Linked DNA regions of Homo sapiens: region 1 is linked to region 2. Evidence: promoter capture Hi-C in 16 types of primary human blood cells and fetal thymus (Javierre and others, 2016). All regions are on one chromosome and are shown on one strand. The core of a region is centred on a gene start or on the middle of the fragment in contact, and the rest is flanking DNA. Distances in the headings are between cores, read along the strand shown.

Evidence for each region. Contacts are between HindIII fragments. The CHiCAGO score rates a contact against its expected background, and 5 or more counts as called.
Region 1: a fragment that was not itself captured here is called in contact with the fragment with the promoter of TMBIM1 in region 2 in 13 of 17 cell types (neutrophils, erythroblasts, total CD8 T cells and 10 more); the score reaches 10.5 in neutrophils.

What each region holds. Positions count from the first base shown.
Region 1 is chr2:218,348,078-218,353,185 of GRCh38, reverse strand. It overlaps CATIP-AS2 (CATIP antisense RNA 2), which reads left to right. Exons shown (of 4, transcript NR_125777.1): 2 at 1,960-2,026. Among named protein-coding and RNA genes, the nearest start is that of CATIP, 6.2 kb to the left of the region's middle. RefSeq lists an enhancer at 3,722-4,272. The HindIII fragment of the contact is 3,784 bases long and covers 1,894-5,108 here.
Region 2 is chr2:218,290,145-218,295,667 of GRCh38, reverse strand. It overlaps TMBIM1 (transmembrane BAX inhibitor motif containing 1), which reads left to right and starts at 3,165. Exons shown (of 12, transcript NM_022152.6): 1 at 3,165-3,202. The region is part of intron 2 of PNKD (PNKD metallo-beta-lactamase domain containing); the gene reads right to left. RefSeq lists enhancers at 1,641-2,487, 2,670-3,632, 3,633-4,597, 5,517-5,523 and a silencer at 2,908-3,387. The HindIII fragment of the contact is 24,107 bases long and covers 424-5,523 here.

The DNA of each region.
Region 1 (5,108 bases), core at 2,536-5,035, 57 kb before region 2:
TTATATTTTCCTATTCAACATAGTATTGGAAGTTCTGGCCAGAGCAGTCAGGCAAGAGAAAGAAAAAAAGGGCATTCAAATAAGAAGAGAGGAAGTCAAACTATCCCTGTTTGAAGATGACATGATCCTATATCTAGAAAACCCCATCATCTCAGCCCAAAAGCTTCTTAAGCTCATTAGCAACTTCAGCAAAGTCTCAGGATACAAAATCAACGTGCAAAAATCGCTAGCATTCCTATATACCAACAACAGGCAAGCAGAGAGCCAATTCATGAACGAACTCCCATTCACTATTGCCACAAAAAGAATAAACTACCTAGGAATACAGCTAACAAGGAAAGTGAAAGATCTCTACAAGGATAACTACAAACCACTGTGCAGAGGACTCAGAGATGACACAAACAAATGGAAAACCATTCCACGCTCATGGATAGGAAGAATCAATATCATAAAATGGCCATACTAGTCAAAGCAATTTATAGATTCAGTGCTGTCCCCATTAAACTACAATTGTCATTCTTCACAAAACTAGAAAAAACTATTTTAAAATTAATATCAGATGAAAAAAGAGCCCAAATAGCTAAAGCAATCCTAAGCAAAAAGAATAAAGCTGCATCCATCACGCTACCTGACTTCAAACTACACTACAGGGCCACAGTAACCAAACAGCATGGTACTGGTAAAAGAACAGACACATAACTTTGTAACAGGTCTGGAAGCTCTGAGTTTATCTTGGGACCTCAAGAGAGGATCACCCAACTCACAGGTGTTAGAGGATACAAACCCATGGCTGGGCTTGGCTTTAAAAGTCTTATCTGAAATTCCTTGTGAAACAGAGTTTCATTAAAGCCAATGCAAAAGGCCTATGTAAGTAAAAATAACCATTCTTGCTGCACTTTACGCAAATAATCAGGCCAAGTATAAGATTGTAGGATATAATAAATTCCTCTTCAAAGGTTTTAGCCTATAAATTGTTAAGCACAATGAGTTCTGAGATCCTCTTCAAAGAACCAATGTATCAGTATATTCAGCTCTCCTGTTCTTTGTTCTTCATTTTAAAGTTTCTCGTTCTTTACATCTCCTTGCCCCTAGTTACAGTAAACAACCCCCTCCTAGCCTCTATCACCTGCTCTGAACTTAGTCACCCTTGGTCACCTGCTCTGTTGTTAGTCATCCTGAGTCACCTGTTCTGTAACCATCCTTCCTGCCAAACTACCTATCCCACCACTCTGGCTCATACCCCTGCTCTCTTTAAAATAGCCAATCAGAATTAGCTTAGACTGTGTGGTCCAACCCTAGCCAATAGGGGAAAGACACAGCAGTAGGGACTAGCTGAGTTAGGATAAGAACCCCTTCCCCTCCCTTGTTCAGGTGTGCTCTCGCCATTGCTCCATCCGTGAGACACACCCTTGTATGGAAGTAAAATTGCCTTGCTGAGAAAATTAAATTTATGTTTGAGTGCTATTTCTTTTCTTTTTTCTTTTTTTTTTTTTTTTTGAGATGGAGTTTCACTCTGTGGCCCAGGCTGGAGTGCAGTGGTGCGATCTCGGCTCACTGCAAGCTCTGCCTCCCAGGTTCACACCATTCTCCTGCCTCAGCCTCCTGAGTAGATGGGACTATGGGCGCCCACCACCACGCCTGGCTAATTTTTTGTGTTTTTAGTAGAGACGGGGTTTCACCGTGTTAGCCAGGATGGCCTTGATCTCCTGACCTTGTGATCTGCCCACATCGGCCTCCCAGATTGCTGGGATTACAGGTGTGAGCCACCGCACCTGGTCTTGAGTGCTATTTCTTTTGCAGCCCTGATAATTTATTTCTAAAAGGACTAAAGTTTATTCATAATTAGTGCTTACCAAAAATGAGGACTGAAGAGAAAAATTTTGATCCAAAGCTTATCATACATTTGTCATTAAATCCTAGTTTCATTAATTGTTTTTAAACTTTTTGCTTACATTTTAGACTAACCCTGCTTATTCCTGTGAATCAAGAGGTGATCTTCTGCAGCTTGGAAAAAAAAAAGCGATGGGTAAGGTAAAAAGGTGAATCAATACTCTAGTTCTGGGCAATTATCTTGCAAATTTTGCCAGGTAAAGAAAGTGAGTAAGGTGCTCATAACCGGGAGGTTTCTTTGTTTGGGAAAATAAAACCAAGGAACTTCAGAGACCCTAAAAGGGGAATTCTATATCTTGGCAAGTAAAAAATTTTTTTTGAGACAGAATTTCACTCTTGTTGCCCAGGCTGGAGTGTAATGGCACAATCTTGGCTCACTGCAATCTCCGCCTCCCAGGTTCAAGCAATTCTCCTGCCTCAGCCTTCTGAGTAGCTGGGATTACAGGCATGCACCACCATGCCCCGCTAATTTTTTGTATTTTTTTGTAGAGACGGGGTTTCTCCATGTTGGTCAGGCTGGTCTTGAACTCCCGACCTTAGGTGACCTGCCCACCTTGGCCTCCGAAAGTGCTGGGATTGCAGGCTTAAGCCACCGCGTCCGGCCGGCAAGTAAAATATTAGGTGGAAATTATCTACCACACTACACTTGTGGAAATTGCTGTCCTCACTCTACTATTTGCAATAGTGTTATACACAGTAGCACCTTCTAACTAAAATATTGGACAGTTTCCATTGCTGTCCTATTTTGCTTAATTATTATCCTTATAACCGGGATAATAGTTATTGACAAAAAGGAAGCATAAAAGTTTTACTATCACTAAGTCAGCTAGGACTTTTTAATTGGGTTTAGTGATGCACTTTTTTTGGTGGGGGATGGAGTTTTGCTGTCTTGCCCAGGCTGGAGTGCAGTGGTGCAATCTTGACTCACTGCAAGCTCTGCCTTCCGGGTTCACACCATTCTCCTGCCTCAGCCTCCTGAGTAGCTGGGACCACAGGTGCCCGCCAGCACGCCTGGCCAATTTTTTGTATTTGTTTAGTAGAGACAGGGTTTCACTGTGTTACCCAGGATGGTCTCGATCTCCTGACCTCATGATACGCCCGCCTCGGCCTCCCAAAATGCTGGGATTACAGGCATGAGCCACCGCACCTGGCCCTAGTGATGCACTTTTAAATGAAACATGCTGCTTTTGGATTAACACCTAGTAAAGTAAAGGAAAATCTACAGGTACCTAAAGATAAAATCAAAATTATTAACAGGCTCAGGGAAAATGCCAGCTTCAGCCCTCAGTGGCTACAATCCCTCTTTAATAAATTACAGTCTTCTTTATGGAATGGTTAATCCGTTTATTAAGCCCTCTCTTGCTTATATGTCTTGTATTGATATTTGGACGAAGTCTACTCAGTACTATAACTCAAATTGTTTCTTCTCGCCTAGAAGCAATCAAACCCCAAATGGTGCTGCAAACTGAACCACACACGGACACGCCATTCTTCCAAGAACCCCTAAATCAACCCCAGCAGGAGCCCTGGCTGCTGTTCCCCATTCAACATCCCTTTTCAGTAGGAAATAGCCAGAAAGAGTCGTTGCCCAAAACCCCTTAACAGCAGTTAGCGTGATATCGCCGCAGGGAGGAATGTGGTAGGAGTTATTAAGAATAAGAAATTGAGGCCAGGCACGGTGGCTCATGCCTGTAATCCCAGCACTTCGGGAGGCTGAGGCGGGTGGATCATGAGGTCAGGAGATCGAGACCATCCTGGCTAACACGGTGAAACCCCACCTCTACTAAAAATACAAAAAATGAGCCGGGCGTGGTGGTGGGCGCCTGTAGTCCCAGCTACTCAGGAGCCTGAGGCAGGAGAATGGTGTGAACCTGGGAGGCGGGGCTTGCAGTGAGCAGAGATCGTGCCACTGCACTCCAGTCTTGGGCAACAGAGCAAGACTCAGTCTCAAAAAAAAAAAAAAAAAAAAAAGAAAGAAATTGGCAGGTGAGGTGGCTCACGCCCCTGTAATCCTGGCACTTTGGGAGGCTGAGGTGGGCGGATCACAAGGTCAGGAGATCAAGGCCATCCTGGCTAACACGGTGAAACCCTGTCTCGACTAAAAATACGAAAAATTAGCTGGGTGTGTGGCATGCACCTGTAGTCCCAGCTACTTGGGAGGCTGAGGCAGGAGAATCGCTTGAACCCGGGAGGTGGAGGTTGTAGTGAGCCGAGATCGCACCACTGCACTCCAGCCTGGTGACAGAGGGAGACTCTGTCTCAAAAAACAAAAAAAAGAAGACAGCCGCCCCGTCCGGGAGGGAGGCGGGGTCCAGCCCCCGGCCGGCCAGCCGCCCCATCAGGGAGGGAGGGGGGGACAGCCCCCGCCCGGCCAGCCGCCCCGTCCGGGAGGTTGGGGGCGCCTCCGCCCGGCCGCCGCCCCGTTGGGAGGTGGGGGGCGCCTCTGCCCGGCCACCCCTTCTGGGAAGTGAGGAGCCCCTCTGCCTGGCGGCCACCCCATCTGGGAGGTGTACCCAACAGCTCATTGAGAACGGGCCATGATGACGATGGTGGTTTTGTGGAATAGAAAAGGGGGAAATGCGGGGAAAAGATAGAGAAATCAGATTGTTGCTGTGTCTGTGTAGAAAGAAGTAGACATAGGAGACTCCATTTTGTTCCGTACTAAGAAAAATTCTTCTGCCTTGGGATGCTGTTGATCTATGACCTTACCCCCAACCCTGTGCTCTCTGAAACATGTGCTGTGTCCACTCAGGGTTAAATGGATTAAGGGCGGTGCAAGATGTGCTTTGTTAAACAGATGCTCGAAGGCAGCATGCTCGTTAAGAGTCATCACCACTCCCTAATCTCAAGTACCCAGGGACACAAACACTGCGGAAGGCCGCAGGGTCCTCTGCCTAGGAAAACCAGAGACCTTTGTTCACTTGTTTATCTGCTGACCTTCCCTCCACTATTGTCCTATAACCCTGCCAAATCCCCCTCTGCGAGAAACACCCAAGAATGATCAATTAAAAATAAATAAATAAATAAATAAAAGAAGACATACATGTGGACAACAAACATATGAATAAAAGCTCAACATCACTCATCATTAGAGAAATGCAAATCAAAACCACAATGAGATACCATCTCACACAAGTCAGAATGGCTGTTATTAAAAAGTCAAAAAATAACAGACGCTGGAAAGGTTGTAGAGTAAAAGGAACGCTTATACACTGTTG
Region 2 (5,523 bases), core at 1,916-4,415:
TCCTTGGCCAGCCCTATTTCCTACCCCTTCTACCCCACTGCACCCTCCACCCCCCATCCTAGCTTGCTGGGGCAACTGGCCCTAAGTCCCTTGCCCTCTGCCTGGAGAACCTTCTCCCCTCCTCCGAATAGGCTGGTTCCTAACACCTCCTAACACTCTACTCAGGTGTCACCTCCTCTGAACTCCTTTCCCGAACCCCCACCCCATTCCCCACACTGGGTTAGGAGCTTTCTCTGGGATCTGGAGGAACCAAGTGAATATTTCTTTATCTGCCAGCACTTGTCAAACTGTCAACATTGTAATAATCTGTCATTTTACTGGCTCCCTTAGACTGTGAGTTTCTTGAGAGCAGGGGCTGTGTTCTTTCAGCCTTCTCATTTCTAGAACCGGAAATTCCTGTCTGGTTGGCAGACAATAAAAGCTTACTTAATAATTTTGCAGATAAGGCCCAAGAGAAAAAAACATCATTTATCGAATGCCTATTGCCAGCGAAGCACTGCTGCTCTGGGCCAGGCGCTTCAGGTGTTATTTTTGACCCTATAGTCAGAAAAAGGGCTCTGGAGAAAAAGCACGCAGCAAGGCTTGTGTGGGCTTGCCTCGTGTGCCCCATGTCCCACTCCCCCAGTCGGGCAGATGTGAGTCGCTGGTGATTGCTGGTTGGAAATGGAATCTCCTTGGATATTAACCATCCTGGTGGTTCTAGAAAGTGGAGGGTGTTTTCTGGAGAAGGGGCCTGCTATGGTGGGAATGTTGTTGTCCCCACTCCATTCATTTGTTGAAACTTAATCCTCAATGTTATAGTATTAAAAGGTGAGGCCTTTAGGAAGTGATTAGGTCATGAAGGCGGAACCCTCTGGAATGGAATTCATGCTCTTAGAAAAGAAGCTGGTGGCCAGGTGCAGTGGCTCACGCCTATAATCCCAGCACTTTGGGAGGTGGAGGAGGGCAAATTGCTTGAGCCCAGGAGTTCAAGACCAGCGTGGGCAACATAGTGAGACCCTGTCTCTACAAAAAATACAAAAATTAGCCAGGTGTGGTGGTGCATGTGTGTAGTCCCAGCTACTCAGGAGGCTGAGTTGGAAGGATTGCTTGTACATGGGAGGTCAAGGCTGCAGTGAGCTGCAATTGTGCCATTGCACAGAGTGAGATTCCATCTCAAAAAAAAGGAAGGCTGGTGGGGGGGCGGTGTCTGTTTGTTCCTTCCTTGGCCATATGAGGACTCAGACGATATCTGTGAAGCAGAGGGAGCCTTCATCAGACACCTAACCTGCTGGTGCCTTGATGTTGCGTTTCCCACCCTCCAGAACTGTGAGCAATACATTTCTGCTGTTTCTAAATTACCCACTCTAAGGTATTTTTGTTGTAGCAGCCCAGATGGACTAAGACAGCACAAGTGTAGAGAGCATGAAAAAATGTCAGGGATCTGGACAGATTCCATGGGCCATGCATTTCACCTAGGGCGCTACTCCTTGAGCAAGGGGGAGACAGACACTGAGCAGAACTGTACTTGCTCTGGTGAGATCACACCTTGGGTGGGGACTTCCTAAAATGAGGTTCTTGGCCTGTAGGAACTGGAAGTACACTGAAGGGTTGGGGTGTCTGGGGAGCTAGCCCACCATAACGGCCACTAGTCCCCCTAAGTAACTCCTACTTAAACTATATTTACAGAAATAAACATACATAGTGTGTGTATGGGGGGCAGTTTTTAAAAATCTGTCTTTTTTTTTTTTTTTTTTTTTTAAATCTCTGTTTTGGGGCTGGACGTGGTGGCTCATGTCTGTAATCCTAGCACTTTGGGAGGCCAAAGTGGGCTGACTGCTTTGAGCTCAGGGGTTTGAGACCAGCCTATGCAACAACGTGAAAACCCATCTCTACAAAACAAACAAACCAAACAAAACAAACAAGCAAACAAACAAAATTAGCTGGGTGTAGTGGCACACACTTGTAATCCCAGCTACTCAGGAGGCTGAGGCCGGAGAATCACTTGAAACCAGGAGGAGGATGCAGTGAGCCGAGATGGCGCCACTGCACTCCAGCCTGGGTGACAGAGCGAGACCCTGTCTGGAAAAAAAAAAAAAAAAAAAAAAGGACATTCAGTGGTGGTGTGGTGCTGACCTATAGCTATTAACATGAGATAAGCACTTTAAACAGAGTTGGTCAACTACTGGCAGCCTTGGTGTCATGGAAAGAACTTGGACTTTGGAACCACAGAAACTCAGGCAAGGCTCGGTAATGTTTCTCTTTTTAAATTGAGACAAGGTCTCTCTATGTTGCCTAGGCTGGGTCTCCAACTCCTGGGCTCAAGCCATCCTCTGGCCTTGGCCTCCCAAAAGTGCTAGGATCGCAGGTGTGAGTCACCATGCCCAGGCTCCAGTAATATTTCAGAACTTCCTCAAAACTGTTTCCTCCTTTGCTACTGCATTCTTCACTGAGATGAGGGTTAAGACCTACCTAACAGTAGTAATCTACATCTCAATGTAGGACTTCTGAATTCTGACTTGAGGAAAGCACCTGCTTTCCTGGTTGAGTAATTATAAACAGAGATTCTAGGTTTGCATGTTTGCAGTTTTAAACTCGAAAAGTGCATTTATCTCAAAAACACAGAATTATCAAGGATTTTAATTACTGATTTATTTGTAATGTAAAAATGGGAAACAAACGGCCTCCAGTAGGAAATTAATTTAATCCGCATAGCCATGCAATGGAATACTTCACGGCATTAAGATTGTGCTTTTGAAGACTATTTAGTGAGAAGAAAAATGTTCATCATAAAACAGTAAAAAGAAGGGCAGTAAACAAAACACCATACAATATACCCCACTGTAGAAAAACAAAATACATACAGAAATGTAATAGCCAAAGAAGGACCCAAAGCGAACGCTTCCCCCTGGGAACTAGGAGGGGTGGAGAGAAATTACTTTCTTCCCTGCATTTCTGTGTCTTTTCTAGCTTCCTATCAGTATCATGTATTGCCTTTAAATCCGAAAATACCCCTGTGTTATTAGTGAGGCGTCGTCGGGGCTCTGAGAGGCGCGCGCGCCCGGGACAGACCCCTGCGCCCCCTGGCGGCGCCCTGAGGCCCCGCCCCACGAGGCCGGCGCGACGGGGCGGGGCGCGGAGCCCCAGCCGAGCCTAGCCCTGCCCGGCCCCGGAGGACTTGCAACACTCCGAGGCCAGGAACGCTCCGTCTGGAACGGCGCAGGCAAGCCAGGGGGCCGGGGCCGGCGCCGTTGGGGACTGTGGGCGGTGGGGACTGGTCCAGGGCTGGGGCGGCCATGCGCCGGGGCGCCTAAACTTTTCGGAGCGCGCTCCCGGCTTGCCCGCTCCTGGGCCCAAGGAGCCCGTTCCAGATGGGGATCTCCCCTCCTGGCCCTTGGCGTTTCGCTCTCCCTGGGCGCGCGGGTGGGCGGCCGGGTCTGTGGCACCTGGTTAGCCTTGGGAGCCCAGCAGCGTGTTGTGGGCACTGGTGAGCGGAGCCAGGGTCTGGGGGTGTCCTCGTGTTCCCTCTTTCGGGCACGAGTGGCCTCTCTGTCGCAGGGCCTATCCACCATGCCAGCCCGAGTGGCCAGCTGTGTGGGATGAGGGCTTTCATGGCCCTCAGCTGGTGAGAAGAGGGAAGAGGGAGGGGAGACAGCCAGGGCCTGGCACGGACCCCAGGTTGCCCCCACACGCGCTGAGGCCAGTCTCGGTGTAGACAGGTGAATATTTAAGGGGTGGGGAAGGGGGGGTCCTAGCTTGCAGCTGGGGCAGAAGCCAATGAGCAGCTCAAGTGTTTGGCATGGGGAAGTGGCCACCTCTATCACCATGACTTTGCCCTCTGCCAGTCCCACTTCCAGCCACTGTTTCCCGGCTGGGTTCACAGAACTACAGGGGAGTAACATCCTCCTCGTGACTTCTTTGGGTTAGAGTGAAAACAAAACAGAGAAACGGGAAAAGGGAAAGCAAGTGGAGAGACTGGGGCAGGAGCCAGGGACCAGTGGGAGGAAGCAGAGGGAGGCTGCTGGGAGGCCAGGCCCTGGCCTTGTGGGGTCGGCACCAATTCTTGTCCTATGGGGTCTCCATCTCCTCTCCCTCCTCTGTGGCCTCTACGTGGTACCCAGGAGTTTGGGGTTCTACCTGAGCACCCTGGACATGGGATAAGTAGGCCTGGGAACGCAGGTCAGAGCCAGATGTCATGGAAGGGCCCTCAGGTGTCCAGTTCTCTGGGCTCTGAAATATTCATCTCATTAGTGAGCTTTGGTTTCCAAGCTGGCGACTTTGGGCTGGCCAGTGGTGGCAGGGGAGCCAGGTGCCTCCTGGGGCTGCTTTATTGGCGCAAAGGGGGAGCCATACTTCCTTCTCACCTGCCTCCTCTCTCTGTCTCTCCAGTCATGAGGATCCAGAGAACCAGTTTATAGCTTAAATGGAAGAGGCAGGACCACAGTGTCAGGGGCCCTGTCTTTCTGTGCTATGACCTCAAGGCCTCACTTGTAAAAATGAGCCCTTCAGAGAGGTAATGATGGGTTATCCTGTAAGTGTTGGGAGAGCCTCATGTCATGAGCTGGGGTAATAGCCACCTGGGCTCAGCCTCCTCCCCTGGGAATGGGTGCCTCAGCCAGACGCTGTCTACCTCAGAGCACCTCCAACCGCAGGCCTCACCCTGGGCCTTTCAGAAAAAGCAGAAGCCACAGAGAAGGGAAACACACATACTTGTGTGTTTTCAGAGGGCTGAACTGGGACGACCAGAGAGTGGAAGCTCATACAATTCTCTGGGAAGAAGTTCTGCTAACAACATGTCTGATCATGACATGGGCCTTCTGGACCTATTCTGTTGGGGACACAGTGGAAGGGATGACCTTGACAGAATCTTCCAACCCTAAGATTCTGGGATTCTAGGCCAAAACCTGGGTCTTGTTTTGAAGTAGAAATGATATCCAGAAGTCGACAGGCTACAGTGGCAGGTACCTCCATTGGTGGGAAGGGAGATATTAATGAGCTCCCACTTTTGTCTGTAATGATTTGTGCTTTGCCCCGTTGCACAGAGGTGAGGTTAGGGGTGCCCGTTTCCTGGTTCTGTGGTAGCTGGATATGTCCCCCGGCCCTTGGCAGTAAATCCCACGGTGGGATAGCAGCTGTGTGGAATGGGGGAAGGGGAGGACCCTCGCCAGAGATCCTGGCACTGGGCTGACCCCCTGAGAGTGAGAGGGCATGTCTAGTACTTCATGTGACTGCTCTGAGGGGCAGCTGGGTGTACGCACAGAGGTTATAAGAGACGAGGAGTTAGGATATGAATGATTCTCAGGGTTGGGTGTCTGTAATACAAAGGTGGCCTGGGTCAGCATCCCACAGGGTGTTAATAGGTTTGCCTCGATAAAAGTGGCTCAGGCTTAAGGGAGTTTGAAGGAACACTGGGTTAAACAAAGCTGAACAGGGTTGCTTACTGCAGGACTTCTCAGGGGCAGAATATGCCATTGTGAATTTCCAAGAAGGGGGTGTGGATTGTTTCTCAAGAGTCATCTGTTTCCAGCACTCATTCATTAACGT